2 separate regions of the Homo sapiens genome follow, and region 2 is linked to region 1. The links are contacts of gene promoters, found by promoter capture Hi-C in human tissues and cell types (Jung and others, 2019). All regions are on one chromosome and are shown on one strand. The core of a region is centred on a gene start or on the middle of the fragment in contact, and the rest is flanking DNA. Distances in the headings are between cores, read along the strand shown. Region 1 holds the start of SH3BP5 (SH3 domain binding protein 5). Region 2 has its middle 9.0 kb from the start of CAPN7.

Evidence for each region. Contacts are between HindIII fragments. The study calls those that stand out against the background at their distance.
Region 2: a contact is called between a fragment that was not itself captured here and the fragment with the promoter of SH3BP5 in region 1, in 1 of the 25 tissues and cell types used here (liver).

Annotation. Positions count from the first base shown.
Region 1 is chr3:15,328,068-15,335,449 of GRCh38, reverse strand. SH3BP5 (SH3 domain binding protein 5) reads left to right here and starts at 2,864. Exons shown (of 9, transcript NM_004844.5): 1 at 2,864-3,179; 2 at 4,884-4,946. The coding sequence starts at 3,042. RefSeq lists silencers at 2,756-3,155, 3,236-3,295 and an enhancer at 7,190-7,379. The HindIII fragment of the contact is 12,246 bases long and covers 1-4,085 here.
Region 2 is chr3:15,193,583-15,200,964 of GRCh38, reverse strand. It overlaps the pseudogene COL6A4P1. Among named protein-coding and RNA genes, the nearest start is that of CAPN7, 9.0 kb to the left of the region's middle. The HindIII fragment of the contact is 4,934 bases long and covers 585-5,518 here.

The DNA.
Region 1 (7,382 bases), core at 1,615-4,114:
ATGTGCTACCATGCCTTGCTAATTTAAAACAATTTTTATTAGAGATGAGGTGTTTCTTTTTTCTTTTTTTTTGAGAGAAAGTCCTACTCTGTCGTTCAGGCTGGAATGCAGTGGTATCATCTCGGTTCACTGCAACCTCTGCCTCCTGGGTTCAAGCGATTCTTCTGCCTCAGCCTCTCGAGTAGCTGGGATTACAGGCATGTGCCACCATGCCCAGCTAATTTTTGTATTTTTACCATGTTGTCCTGGCTGGTCTCAAACTCCTGACCTCAGGTGATCCACCTGCCTCGGCCTCCCAAAGTGCTAGGATTACAGATGTGAGCCACCATGCCTGGCCTAGAGACCAGGTCTTGCTTTGTTGTCCAGGCTGGTCTCAAACGCCTGGCCTCAAGCGATCGTCTCTCCTGCCTCGGCCTCCCAAAGGACTGAGATTACAGGCATGAGCCACCACATCTGGCCCCTCCTGTATACTTTATTATTTATATATATATATTTATTTTGAGACAGGGTCTTGCTGTCACCTAAGCTGGGGGGCAGTGGTGCAATCTCAGCTCACTGCAACCTCTACCTCCTGGGCTTAAGCAATCTTCCCATCTCAGCCTCCCAAATAGCTGTGACTACAGGCATGAGCCACCACACTTGGCGAATTTTTTGTATTTTTTGTAGAGATGGTGTTTCACCATGTTGTCCAGGCTGGTCTTGAACTCCTGAGCTCAAGCAACCCACCCACCTTGGCTTTCCAAAGTATTGAGATTACAGGCATGAACCACCATGAGCAGCCCCTCCTGTATACTTTAAGTCAGCTCTAGATTTCTTACCTGCAATACCTAATACAATGCAAATATGTACATAGTTGTCATATACTGTATTTTTTTTTTTTCTAGAGAGCAAGGCAGTCTCGCTTTGTTGCCCAGGCTGGTCTGGAACTCCCGGCCTCCAGTGATCCTCCTTGCCTCAGCCTCCCAAAATGCTAGGATTACAGGTGTTAGCCACCACTCCTGGCCATGTATTTTTAAATATGCATTTTTTTAATTGTTGTGTTTTTTTCCCCCAAATATTTTCTATCTGTGGTTAGTTGAATTTACACATGTGGAACCTGAGAGGCTATGGAGGGTTGACTGTATATAGTACTGCCTGTGGTTTATTTATTTTTCTCATTTTATCTTTAGAAAGACTATTAGGATTAACACTATAGCTGGCCCAGATCTCCAAAAAATAAGACAACAAAAGTCTGAACTGATGTTCTTGAGCAGTTGGCCTATGTCTCATAGATGTATTTTGCTCTTGACCTAAGCTTAAGCAGGAATGTAGTTTGGAGTTTGCCATTTAGAATGGAGAGGATAGGGTTCTGCTAGCTGAGAAGCATTTATCATAGTCAGGGCTGACCCCAGAGTTCTGTTTATTTCAAACTCTGTCTCTCAGTTCATTCAGAGCTAGGATGTACCTGCAAAGTTGGAGGCTCAATTCCAAGCCACCAGAGAAGGTTGGTGGCTCCTGTGTTCCAAAGTGACCCCTATGGCTATCTTGTTCCTGGCTTCATCTATCATTGGAAAACCAAAAGCAACTATGTCTTTAGCAAGGAGCTTTGAAGCACCTCTCACAGAATTGCTGACTCATCCTTGATTTAAAGAGCAATGAACAGGTCTGACCTTTTTAGAAACAAACCATGGCACTACCTCCAGGAGACAGGACAAATTTCCTTTGACAGTGGACTACAGTGCCAGCGTGTATGGGGTGGTGCCTTGCCCAAGGAGTAACCCTCTAGCCTAGTTTCTGATAAAACCACCAGGAGCAGGACTATTTATTCATTTGAGAAGGGGTCTGGCTGTATTGTCCAGGCTGGTGTTGAACTCCTGGCCTCAAGTGATCCTTGTGTCCTGGCATCTCAAAGAGCTGGGATTACAGATACGAGCCACCACGTTGTGCCAGACCCAGGTTTTGTAAGGTGGCTTTGATGATAGGTTCTCAGAAAGAAGCTCCTTTCTCAAGCAAATTTGTCCTCCAAACTCAGAGCCGATGGGCTACAGGCCTCCGTGTAGGACATGTGCACGTTCTGCATTTCTCAAGGCAAGGAGACGTGAGCAGCCATGTGCTCATCTGCTTTGCCAAGGTCATCCTTTGCGTTCCCCTGACATCACAGTGGCCCTGACATTTCATAAAAGCACACACACGTGCCTCTTCAGTTTGGCCTTTTCGGATGCTGTGTCTGCCAGGCCAACTCTGTCTCCCTACTTGTTGATGGTGGGCAGAAAGTCTCACTAATTCATAAATTCTTGGCCAGAGTGTGCCCATCAACAGGGGTTACACTTGCCACCTCCTTAAATCCCAGCTCAATGCATTCTCCATGCTCCTGGCTATTCAGGTAGGACCGCCGCACCTCTGTGTTTCGGTATGGGGCTCGCCCAGAGAGGCCGCAGCCTTCGGCAATGCATCAGTGCACGGAACCTCCGCCATTCCCAAGGTTCGCTCAAGAGGATGAGTGTGCTTTGGGTATAGGGTTTCGGCAAGTCTTGGTCCTGAGGGCCAGGGTCACTGAGCGTAGGCTTCAGAAGGCGACTTCAGTGTGAAAACACCCACGCCTCCCTACCACACAAACAACGAGCCTCGGAGGAGGGCTGGAGGAGGGGACTCCCGAAAGCGGGAGGCTTGCGTTACGTAGTTGAGATATATCCGAGCTGCTAAGTTACAAGGGGGTGGGGGCTGTCCTATTTTGCCACCTTGGAGATGTGGAGGGAGCTGGGGTTTTGCGACGGAGACCTGGATAGCTGGGACTGGCGGCGGAACGCGAGGCCGGGGCGGGACGGGGGCGGAGCGGGCGCTGCGCTGACTGCCGCGGCAGAAAGGGGGCGGCCGCGCCCATTTCCTCTGCTCCGCCGCGGCCGGAGGTATCCGCATCGGCGAGCTGCGTCTCCCGGGTGTCGGCCCCGGCGGCTCCCCGACCGTGCCCGGCTGTGGCGAGGCGGCTCCAGCCCAGCCTGTGGCAGCCGCGACCCCCGGGGCGCTCCGGAGCCCACTGCGCGGCGCGCGTGCCGGCTGCCTGCATGGACGCGGCACTGAAGCGGAGCCGCTCGGAGGAGCCAGCCGAAATCCTGCCGCCTGCCCGGGACGAGGAGGAGGAGGAGGAAGAGGGGATGGAGCAGGGGCTGGAGGAGGAAGAAGAGGTGGATCCCCGGATCCAGGTAGGGCGCGCGGGGTCGCCCCGCATCCGGGCTTCGCGAGGGCTGCTACGGAGGTCGGTGTCTACGCGTACAGCCACTTCGCAGCCCCCAGTAACTGTGGTCCGGGGACTGGCGGCCACATAGGGTGGCAGGAGACGGTCTGTATGCTCCGTTTCATCGTCTCCACAATGAGGAGGCTACAGTGCCCGCGTGGATGCGGCCTGACTCTATTGCGGGGAGTCCCCCGCCGACCCGTAGCAGGATCGGGGTCGGTGCAGCGTGCCTGGTGGTTCGGGTGGATGTGCAACAAAGGGAAAAAGGGGGCGGGGGCGCCATGGTATCCTCGGGGGTACCCCTGCCCGGCCGCGGCACCGCGGGCATGGCACGGCGTCCAGGCTCTGCGAGGAGGTGTCGCCCGCGTGGGCGCCGGGCACCGTGGGCGGGTGGGCGTTGCCCTGCAGCGCGGGCTGGCACCGGTGCCCCGGGTGCAGAGTCCTCACTTGCCAAGGTGCCCGGCCTGAGCCGTTTTCCTTCTCTGATTGATTGTTAGCGAACTGAGCGGCTTATTGTCATCACTGGCTCAACGTTCTGCCTGGCTTGAAATTGCTTAAAACCCTGCTTTTCCTTGTTGTGAGGTTGGGCATGAAAAGAAATCGGGGACAACTGATGCGCAAAGCTGACGCGTGGAGGCGGCGAGGGGATTGGGCTGGCTGGCTGTGCCTCCATTTCCAAGAGAGATGATTAAAAAACAATTTCCAAGCCGAGATCTAGGAGTGACAGTTTCACCTCTTCACCCCTAAGCAAAAAGCAGAGCAAATCCCTTTCTAAGGCCCGTTTTTTTTCTACCTTTTCAATAAATCATTTTTTTAAAAAAATTGCTTTTAAGCATGCTCTGTAATTTCTGGATACCTAATTGGTTTTTTAGTGCACAGATCAATTTAAAAGCTCACTTAACTCAGTGGTTGGGGTTTAAATGAATTGTTTTGTCAGCTTAGCAAGATAAAGATCAGGTGGAAAAAAAATCCTTGCATTAGGAATGCTATTAATTAAAGTAATTGGTTTGGAATAAATCGTGTGTTACTGGTATGGGATTATGTTAGCAAGATCCTTTGTTTGCATAGTAATGATGAGTTAAGTTCATGTTGGATACTTTTTTTACAAAATGTCAGTTTGTAAATGTTTATTGAAAGGAATGGGATTAAAGCTAGTTTAAAACGTCCAGCTAAGTAGGTTGAATAATTGGCAGTGTGAAAAGATTTTCACCCTTTACAGAAAAATAATTCTGGTGAGTTAATACCAGAATTCTGCCCTTGATGATTTCACTGGGTTTATATTTTTGGCTTGGCCTTGCTTATTGTCTTTTATTGTTTTCTAAGCAAAGTTCTTGCTCAAGGCAGATGGTACTGTTTTGATTAGGCCATTAAACCATTTGTAACAGGTGGGGTTTACCTGAAGGCATGTACCTGGAATAGTTGACCTCTGACAAATTCCAAATGTCTCTGAAGACATTGTCAAAAGGGACACCCTCAAGAAAATGGTTTCAGAAATGCCGACATTCATTTGCTTTTCTAGTCAAGCCTCAACTGTTTGCCGTAAGAATTAATTCTGATTCTTCCCTTTTCCTGCAAATTGGGCTGGGGTAATTTTTCAGGTTATGGACTGAGTTATATTGGAAACAAAAGACGGATCCCTTAAGTCTTTTTTTCTCCCTCTTTTCTTCACCAGGGAGAACTGGAGAAGTTAAATCAGTCCACGGATGATATCAACAGACGGGAGACTGAACTTGAGGTACAGAGAGCTGAGTTCCTGTTCTTGGTGAAGTGATGTCACTCACACCGGCACAAGGCTGGTTAATTTTGTCTTCATAGCTGGAGTGTTATTGCTGGACCCCCCTCCTTGGGAGTTGAGCAACAGCTCCCTGACAGAATAAAATACACCACTGAGCTCAACCTGTGGGCGGAACGCATGTGGATCCAATTGCACATGTTGTTTTTCATTATGGAAGCTCCATGGGGCCTAAACCAAGTCTGTGCAGAGCGTTACACAACGCTTAAGCCCCAAGTTTTAATGTGACTGAAAGGACAGGGGAAAATTAGCCGAACTCTTTAATGGAGAATAATGAATGAGCTCACAAAATCTCTTACATATTCAGGGCAGTTCCTGCCATTTGTCCTGGAGAGTGTTGTGTTGTTTCCTCTGACTTCGACCATTTCTTGACTTTCCTGTCCTAATAACTCACCCCCCGCCTCCTTCTGCTTCCCTGCTCATTTCTTTATTGTCTGCTAGTGCATAGAATATAATTATAATGGTAACAAAAAGCTGTTTAGACTGGGAAGGCCTTTCCTGCTGGGAAAAATCTTGGGAGACTAAAACTTGATTTGGGTTTCATGTGCATTTTCCAATGGGAGTGTAAACAAGTTAGCATTCATCACAGCCTCCGATTAGTTCCCACCCCTTTCCAGTAGTGGTTGCTTTTACCACCCATCAGCAAATTTGAACAACCACTATATGTATTCAGGAGACTGTGAATTGACTGTCAGAACCCCAAAGGGACTCTCAGCGCAGTTTCCCAATGCAGGGAGCTGTTGGCAAAGTCTGTTTCTGTAGCAGGAGAAATAGCAAACGTCAGTGGAAGGGACAAGAAGCACATGGTCCCTAAGAGTGAGAGTGTGGGAGATAGGAATATAATCTACCAGGATTCACTGGCAGCCTTGATTTCTGCTGCGTGCGTAGGCCCTGGAGTTACCAAATCTGGATGCAGCAATGTGGATGAAAAAGCCTGTTGCTCTGAGTTGCGTGAAGGGTTATCGCTAACCACCTCCATTTCCATCGTAGGTATACAAGAGCATGGGCTGTCCTTCTCCCCAAGTAAAGTAAAATCTGTGTTTGTTTACATTTCTTTCACTTATGAATTGAGTCTGTCTGTGATGTGGGGTAACTGAAACCTCTCAGGATCTCAGATTTCTAATGCATTAAACAACAAAACTCTTACCATTCCTATAGGGCTTTAGCATTTCCAGAGTGTTTTTTACACGTTTTAGCTCATTCCATCCTGTCACACCAGCCTAGAGCTATGCTGTCCCATATGGTAGCCATGTGCAACGTATGGCTATTTGAATTTAATTAAAATTTTTTTTTTTTTGAGACAGAGTCTTACTCTGTCGCCCAGGCTGGGGTGCAGTGGTGTGATGTCTGCTCACTGCAACTTCCACCTCCTGGGCTCAAGTGATTCTCATTCCTCAGCTTCCTGAGTAGCTGGGATTACAGGTGTGCACCACCATGCCTGGCTAATGAGTTTAATTAAAATTAAGTAAGACTAAAAATTCCATTTCTCAGTCACAATAGCCACGTTTCAAGAGCCCAGTTGCCACTATATTAAACAGTCCAGTTGCCACTGTATTAAACTGCTGTCATCATAGAATGTTCTGGCCTGGAGAGCTAGGAGGGTAGGGACTATTTACTTTCCAGATCAGGACTCAGAGGCTCAGCATCTTCTGGTACTATGACGCCTCAGAGGCAGGGCTCCCATCTTATACTCCCAGGCATTTTCCAGATCTCCTCCAGTTCCTGCATTCTATTATCCCAGTGCAGTGGTGCAATCACAGCTCACTGCAACCTCAAACTCCTGGGTTCAGGCAACCCTCCTGCATCATCCTCCCCAGTAGCTGAGACTACAGGTGCATGCCACCATACCTGGCTAATTTTTCATATCTTTAAGCTTTTTTGTAAAGATGGGATCTAGCTCTGTTGACCAGGCTGGTCTTGAACTCCAGGCCTCAAAGTGATCCTCCCACCTTGGCCTCCCAAAGTGCTGGGATCACAGGCATGAGTTGCCATACCCATCCTGGAAATAGTCTTTTTTTTTTTTTTTTAAAAGCATTGATTGATTCTAGTTGCTCGCCTACTATGTGCCGGCCACTGTTCTGGGTAATGAACAAGATGGCCCACATCTCAGCCCCAAGTGTGCTTACTTTCTTGGGGTGAAATTGGTTAATCTGTTAAACTCTTTTTAGCCCTTACTTCTGAATCCCATTTCTGAATACACTTAGGTATTTGTGTGTCACAGGAAGCCACCAGACAGGTGTTTCCTGCCTGGCTCTGGAGAGCATTTGGAACCGTGTGAGAGGCGAACTGGAGGGTGTGAGGGGGGTGGCCAGGGCTGGGCTGGGTTGCTGGCTGGCCTTTTCACGGTATTATAACCAAGACTGACTCATAGAAATATAA
Region 2 (7,382 bases), core at 1,802-4,301, 130 kb after region 1:
AATTTATAAATATACATTTATAAATATATATTATATATTTATAAATTTTCCTATATATATAATAAAGCTCATTCTATCTTACGATTACCATATGAGCCCATTGGATCCCTTTATAATCTAAGCTACCTTTTGGAATCTAAGCTACCTTTTGGGATCCTTCTGTACATGTTAAAATATTTTGATATTTTATCATTCTATGAATTATTTCATCATTACTCAATAATTACAAGCTATCATTTAAAAATACTAAAATAATAGGACAACAGAAGAAAGATGAAATGCCTAAATGGATAAAGTAATTGTGAAATAATAATTATTAAATTAGCCTTCAGTTTTCCTGTTGCATTGTCCAAAGTATTGCATTGTCCCTCAAAAAGGTATAAGAGAAGTCTGGAGATACTATCTTTGGAGCACAGTTTTAGTTTTCTTTCTAATTAAGCTTTCTATTTTGAGATAATTGTAACTTAACATGCTATTGTAAGAAATAACACAGAAATCTCATATACACTTTATCTAGTTTATCTCAGTAGTAATAGCTTGCATAACTCTAGTACAACATAATGACCAGGAAATTGACGTTGATACAGTTCACCAATTTTACACTTTCAGTTTTCATTGGACAAAGTAGATCAGGGGTCACCAACCCCTGAGCTGTAGACTGATATCATCTCTGTCCTGTTAGGAACAATGTTGCACAGCAGGAGGTGAGTGGTGGGCAAGTGAGCGAAGCTTCATTTCTATTTACAGCTGCTCCCCATCATTCATATTACTGCCTGAGCTCTGCCTCCGGTCAGATCAGCCACAGCATTAGATTCTCATAGTAGTTCAAAACCTGCTGTGAACTCTGCATGCGAAGGATCTAGGTTGCGTGCTCCTTATGAGAATCTAATGCCTGATGATCTGAGGTGGAGCTGAGGCAGTGATGCTAACGCTGGGGAGTGGCTGCAAATACAGATTAACACTAGCAGAGGTTTGACTGCACAGAGACCATAATAAATTGCTTGTGATCTCATATCAAAACCCTATCAGTGAGCGGCAAGTGACAATGAAGCTGCATCTGGTGGTAGGCTTTATAGTGGTAACTGAGTTGATGTACTTCAATTGTACAGCTGCATCTGGTGGCAGGCTTGAAGTTAGAATCCAACACTTATTTTAGTCCTCACGTGGAGTGCGTGGCCTGCAGTCCTCTTTCCCACGCTACCCACTTGTCTCAGTCAGTTTTGGTAAGCCCACAAGCTAACCCAAACCCAAATGAGTAAAAATCAGTTGTCACTGGAAAACTTATTTGAAAAGGGGAAAGACCCAATGATGACACAGCAGAAGACTCTACGACTGCCAACAGAAAGAAAGCTGCATTAAAAAAATACCAAGAGTCCTACTTAAATTATGGGTTCATTGCAACAGGTGATTCACGTTCTCCAAGCCCACGTTGTATAATGTGTGGCAACCGGCTATCCAATGAAGACATAAAACCTTCAAAACTGCTTTGCCATGTGGAGACCAAGCACCCTGCATTAAAACACAAGTCTTTGGAGTTTTCCCAAAGAAAAAAAGTGAGCATGAAGAACAGAAGCAATTACTGAAGGCCACCACTTCATCAAATGTGTCTGCACTGAGAGCATCATTCTTAGTGGCTAACCACATTGCTAAAGCTAAGAAGCCCTTTACTGTTGAAAAAGAGCTGATCCTGCCTGCTGCTGAGGACATTTGTCATGAACTTTTAGGAGGGGCTGCAGTTCAAAAGCTGGCACGTGTTCCTCTTTTGGTTGGTACCGTAACTAGAGGCATCGATGAAATAGCAGAGGATATTGAGGCACAATTGTTAGAGAGGATTAATGAGTCACTGGAGTACACAATCCAGGTTGACAAGTCTACTGATGTTGACAACAAGGCAACAATATTTGTTTTTGTGTGACATATTTTTCAAGAGGATGTGCATAAGGGTATGTTTTGGGTACTTTTGTTGCCAACCAATACCACAGCTGCAGAACTATTTAAGTCTTTGAATGATTACATGTCTGGAAACTGAATTGATCATTTTGTGTCAGTTTATGCAAGGACATAGTGGCTGCCATGACTAGATGGCTTTCTGGTTTCACTGCTTGGGTCAAAGAGGTCGCTTGTGAATGTGAGTCTATGCAGTGTGTCATCCATAGAAAAATGCTGGTTAGCTGAAAAATGTCACCTGAACTTAACGTTTTGCAGGATGTGATTAAAATTACCAACCACATTAAAGTACATACCCTTAACTAACATCTGTTCACGCAGCTCTGTGAGAAGATGGACGCAGAGCACACGTGTCTTCTCTTATACACAGAAGTGAGGTGGCTTTCTAAAGGTAGATCACTGGCCAGAGTTTCTGAGTTATGAGCCTCCAGAGATTTCTTTTAGAAAAACAGTCACCATTGGCAGCACATTTCAGTGACACAGAATGGGTCTCAAAACTTGCTTCCTTGTGTGACATATTCAACCTGCTCAATGAACTCAATCTATCACTTCAGAGGAGAACAACAACTGTGTTCAAGTCAGCAGATAAAGTGGCTGCATTCAAAGCCAAGCTGGAGTTATGGGGGTGACAAGGGAACACTGGGATTTTTGACATGTTTCAAACATTAGCAGAGATTTTGAAAGAGACTGAGCCAGGGCCTTCTTTCTTCCAGCCGGTGCATGATCACCCATCTCAGTTTTCAAAAGAGTTTGAGCATTACTTCCCAACCACAAAAGACCCCCAAACTAGGAAGGAATGGATCTGCAACCCATTTGTGAATAAGCCAGGTAAATCAACTTTGTGCTAGAAGAGGATCAACTGCTTGAGATTGCAAATGATGGTGGCCTTAAAAGTATGTTTGAGACAACTTCAAATCTTCGTATGTTCTGGACTAAAGTCAAAGTGGTAGCCTGAGATTGCCACAAAAGCACTGAAAAGCCTGCTTCCATTTCTAACATCCTATCTTTATGAAGCAGGGTTTTTTGTAGTGAGAGAAACCATAATGAGATTATGGAGTAGACTGGACATAAGCAACACATTTCAGGTGTCACTGTCTTCCATCACCCCCAGATGGGACCATCTAGTTGCAGGAAAACAAGCTCAGGGCTCCCACATATTCTGCATTATGTGAATTGTGTAATTATTTCATCATATATTACAATGTAATAATAGTAGTAACAAAGTGCACAATAAATGTAGTGTGCTCGAATCATCCCCTCCCCATCCCCGCAGTCTGTGGAAAAATGGTCTTTCATGGAACTGGTCCCTGACACCAAAAAGGTTGGGGACTGCTGATGTAGAGATTAAATTTTTTTCATGTCCACTCTAATGACGAAAACAAGCAAATTGATGGAGAAAGTCATTTCACAATTTTGTTACCATTTTCTAACTTTGCAAACCTTCAGCACACTGATTAATATCTCTAAGCCTCAATTTTTCTCATCTGTAAAATAGGTAGATTAGTAACTACCTCATAAAGTTTTAGAAGGATTGAATGAGATAATGCCAGTAAAGCCTTTAGCACAACACCTGGCACATATGAAGTATTTGACAAAGTTATGTCCTGCAACACTTGACTGTGCTCTTTACTCTTCATGACTGTGTTCTTTTGGGATAATCTGTCAGTGCAGGGGCAGAAGAAATGGTTACAGAACCATTTAACCCTTATCTCATTTACCTCTGAGCTGCTTGGAATTCCACTTCCTGAACTCTGATCATCTTGGGAAACAGAAGCAACAACAGCATCCTCTGAAGAGCTCAGTCATTGATAGGCAATGGGAGTGTTTATCACATCTTTTTCTTATAGTCTCTGAGTGCAGCTTCACAATCCTTTACTGCACCCTTAAGCCAGATGTGTTTTGGAATTTGAAATTCACAGAGAACTCCCAGACAGTAGGACTGAATCTTGATAAGGAACTGGAAGCATATACCAAACTGCATTTCAGAATTTTTCTAGATTATTGCAGTGTGCTTGCCTCTTCCTCCCTTTCGAGTAGGATTTTCCTATAGGGATCATCTTATGCCTCTTATCACTGTGCGTTGGGTGTGTGTGTGGGCGGGGGGGGGGGTGCAGATTGTCTCTTTAACAGAGCTCTAATCAAAAGGAGTGATATTTAAGGAGCTGCACCCAAATGAACCACACCAAGGCATCTCATCTTCACCTGAACCTGATTTAGATGACAAGCTCCTGGACTTCAAGCTGATGTTTTAATAGTTTGAGACTTGAGAATTCTAGGGGTGTGATTTGAATGTATTTTGCATGTGGGAGGCATGAGAAATATGGCCAGAAAGCAAACTGTGGCAGACTGTATTTTACAAATAGGCCAAAAGCTTTATCTTACATCCCACGTGATCTCCTTACAAGGGTATCTTCATGTCCCTTCTTTTAAGCGGTAGGATCTTTGTCCCCTACCATGCATCCTGGACATAACTTTGTGACTGCCTTGACTAATAGTGTATAGTGGAAGTGCTACCATCTAACTTATGAGGCTAAATCATAAAATGCCACTCACTTGTACCTTGCTCTTATCATCTAGACACCTTGGACTGGATGACATAATTTGCATTGTTTTAGTAGTTACAGCTTCTACGTGGCTGATGGCTAAAATAGTATTCACAGTCCTCTTCCAGAGCAGGAACTTGAAAGTGCTTCCACTTCACAAATTCCCAAAGGTTAAATGTATAATGGCATCAAATTAAGGAAGTTTATTCTTTTCAGATGATTGCAAGCTGGTTTATTCAGTAGAAATAGAAAATAAGATTGTTTTCTCCCTTTTCAAAAGAAATTTTGCTGTAGCAGATATTCCTATTACACAACAAGTGGAAATTGTGTTGGTTTATACACAGTTTTTCCCAGGCACAGGGAACCATATTAGTATGAGTAGAATTTAAAACATCAACAGGATGGCTACTACTCAAGCCGGAACCTTTTCAGCTCAAAATAAAACTACGCCTGTCTTGAGAGCAGTTCCACCAGCTCAGACTTCCATTCCATCTACACAGTCTCTGAATGCAATCCAGAATTTCCACGTTATGGTTTTTTTTTTTCATTGTTGTTGTTCTTAAGCTTTTTAAAATTTTTGTATGTGTACTTTTAAAAAAGTTTTCAGCTTTTATTTCAGATACAAGGGATGCATGTATAGGATTGTTACATGGGTACATTGGACCTAGGTAGTGAGCAGAGTAACCATCCATTATGATTTTTTGTGTTTTTATTATTTATTTATTTATTTATTTATTTATTTTATTATACTTTAAGTTCTGGGATATACATGTGCAGAATGTGCAGGTTTGCTACATAGGTATACATGTGCCATGGTGGTTGGGTGTACCCATCAACCCGTCGTCTACATTAGGTATTTCTCCTAATGCTCTCCTTCCCCTAGCCCCCCACCCCGCAACAGGCCCTGGTGTATGATGTTCCCCACCCTGTGTCCATGTATTCACATTATTCAACTCCACCTTATGAATGAGAACATGCAGTGTTTGGTTTTCTGTTCCTGTGTTAGTTTGCTGAGAATTATGGTTTCCAGCTTCATCCATGTCCTTGCAAAGGACATGAACTCATTCTTTTTATGGCTGCATAATATTCCATAGGGTATATGTGCCACAGTTTCTTTATCCAATCTATCATTAATGGTCATTTGGGTTGGTTCCAAGTCTTTGCTATTATGAATTGTGCTGCAATAAACATACATGTGCATGTGTCTTCATAGTAGAATGATTTATAATCCTTTGGGTATATACCCAGTAATGGGATTGCTGGGTCAAATGGTATTTCTGGTTCTAGATACTTGAGGAATTGTCACACTGTCTTCCACAGTGGTTGAAGTAATTTACACTCCCACCAACAGTGTAAAAGCATCCTTATTTCTCCACATCCTCTCCAGCATCTGTTGTTTCCTGACTTTTTAAGGATCGCCATTCTAACTGGCATGAGGTGGTATCTCATTGTGGTTTTGATTTGCATTCTCTAATGACCAGTGATGATAAGCTTTTTTTCATAGTTTCTTGGCCACATAAATGTCTTCTTTTGAGAAGTATCTTTTCATATCCTTTGCCTACTTTTTAATGGGTTTTTTTTTCATGTAAATGTGTTTAAGTTCCTTGTAGATTCTGGATAGTAGCTCTTTTTCAGATGGATAGATTGCAAAAATTTTCTTCCATTCTGTATGTTGCCTATTCATTTTGATGATAGTTTCTTTTGCTGTGCAGGAGCTCTTTAGTTTAATTAGGTCCTACTTGTCAATTTTGGGTTTTGTTGCCCTTGCTTTTGGTGTTTTAGTTATGAAGTCTTTGCCCATGCCTATGTCCTGAATGGCATTGCCTAGGTTTTCTTCTAGGGTTTTCGTGGTTTTAGGTCTTATGTTTAAGTCTTTAATCCATCTTGAGTTAATTTTTGTGTAAGGTGAAAGGAAGGGATCCAGTTTCAGCTTTCTACATATGGCTAGCCAGTTTTCCCAGCACCATTTATTAAATAGGGAATCCTTTCCCCATTGGCTGTTTTTGTTAGGTTTGTCAAAGATCAGGTGGTTGTGGATGTGTGGCGTTATTTCTGAGGACTCTGTTCTGTTCCATTGGTCTATATATCTGTTTTGGTACCAGTACCATGCTGTTTGGTTACTGTAGCCTTGTAGTATAGTTTGAAGTCAGGTAGCATGATGCCTCCAACTTTCTTCGTTTTGCTTAGGATTGTCTTGGCTATATGGGCTCTTTTTTGGTTCCATATGAAATTTAAAGTAGTTTTTTCTAATTCTGTGAAGAAAGTCAATGGTAGCTTGATGGGAATAGCATTGAATCTATATATTACTTTGGGCAGTATGGCCATTTTCACGATATTGAGTCTTCCTATCCATGAGCATGGACTGTTTTTCTGTTTGTTTGTGTCCTCTCTTATTTCCTTGAGCAGTGGTTTGTAGTTCTCCGTGAAGAGGTCCTTCATATCCCCTGTAAGTTGTATTCCTAGGTATATTATTCTCTTTGTAGTAATTGTGAGTGAGAGTTCACTCATGATTTGCCTCTGTTTGTCTATTATTGGTGTATAGGAATGCTTGTGAGTTTTGCACATTTATTTTGTATCCTGAGAATTTGCTGAAGTTGCTTATCTGCTTAAGGAGTTTTTGGGCTGAGACGATGGGGTTTTCTAAATATACAATCATGTCATCTGCAAACAGAGACAATTTGACTTTCTCTCTTCCTATTTGAATACCCTTTAGTTCTTTATTTTGCCTGATTGCCCTGGCCAGAACTTCCAATACTATGTTGAATAGGAGTGGTGAGAGAGGACATCCTTGTCTTGTGCTGGTTTTCAAAGGGAATGCTTCTAGCTTTTGCTCATTCAGTATGATATTGGTTGTGGGTTTGTCAAAAATAGCTCTTATTATTTTGAGATATG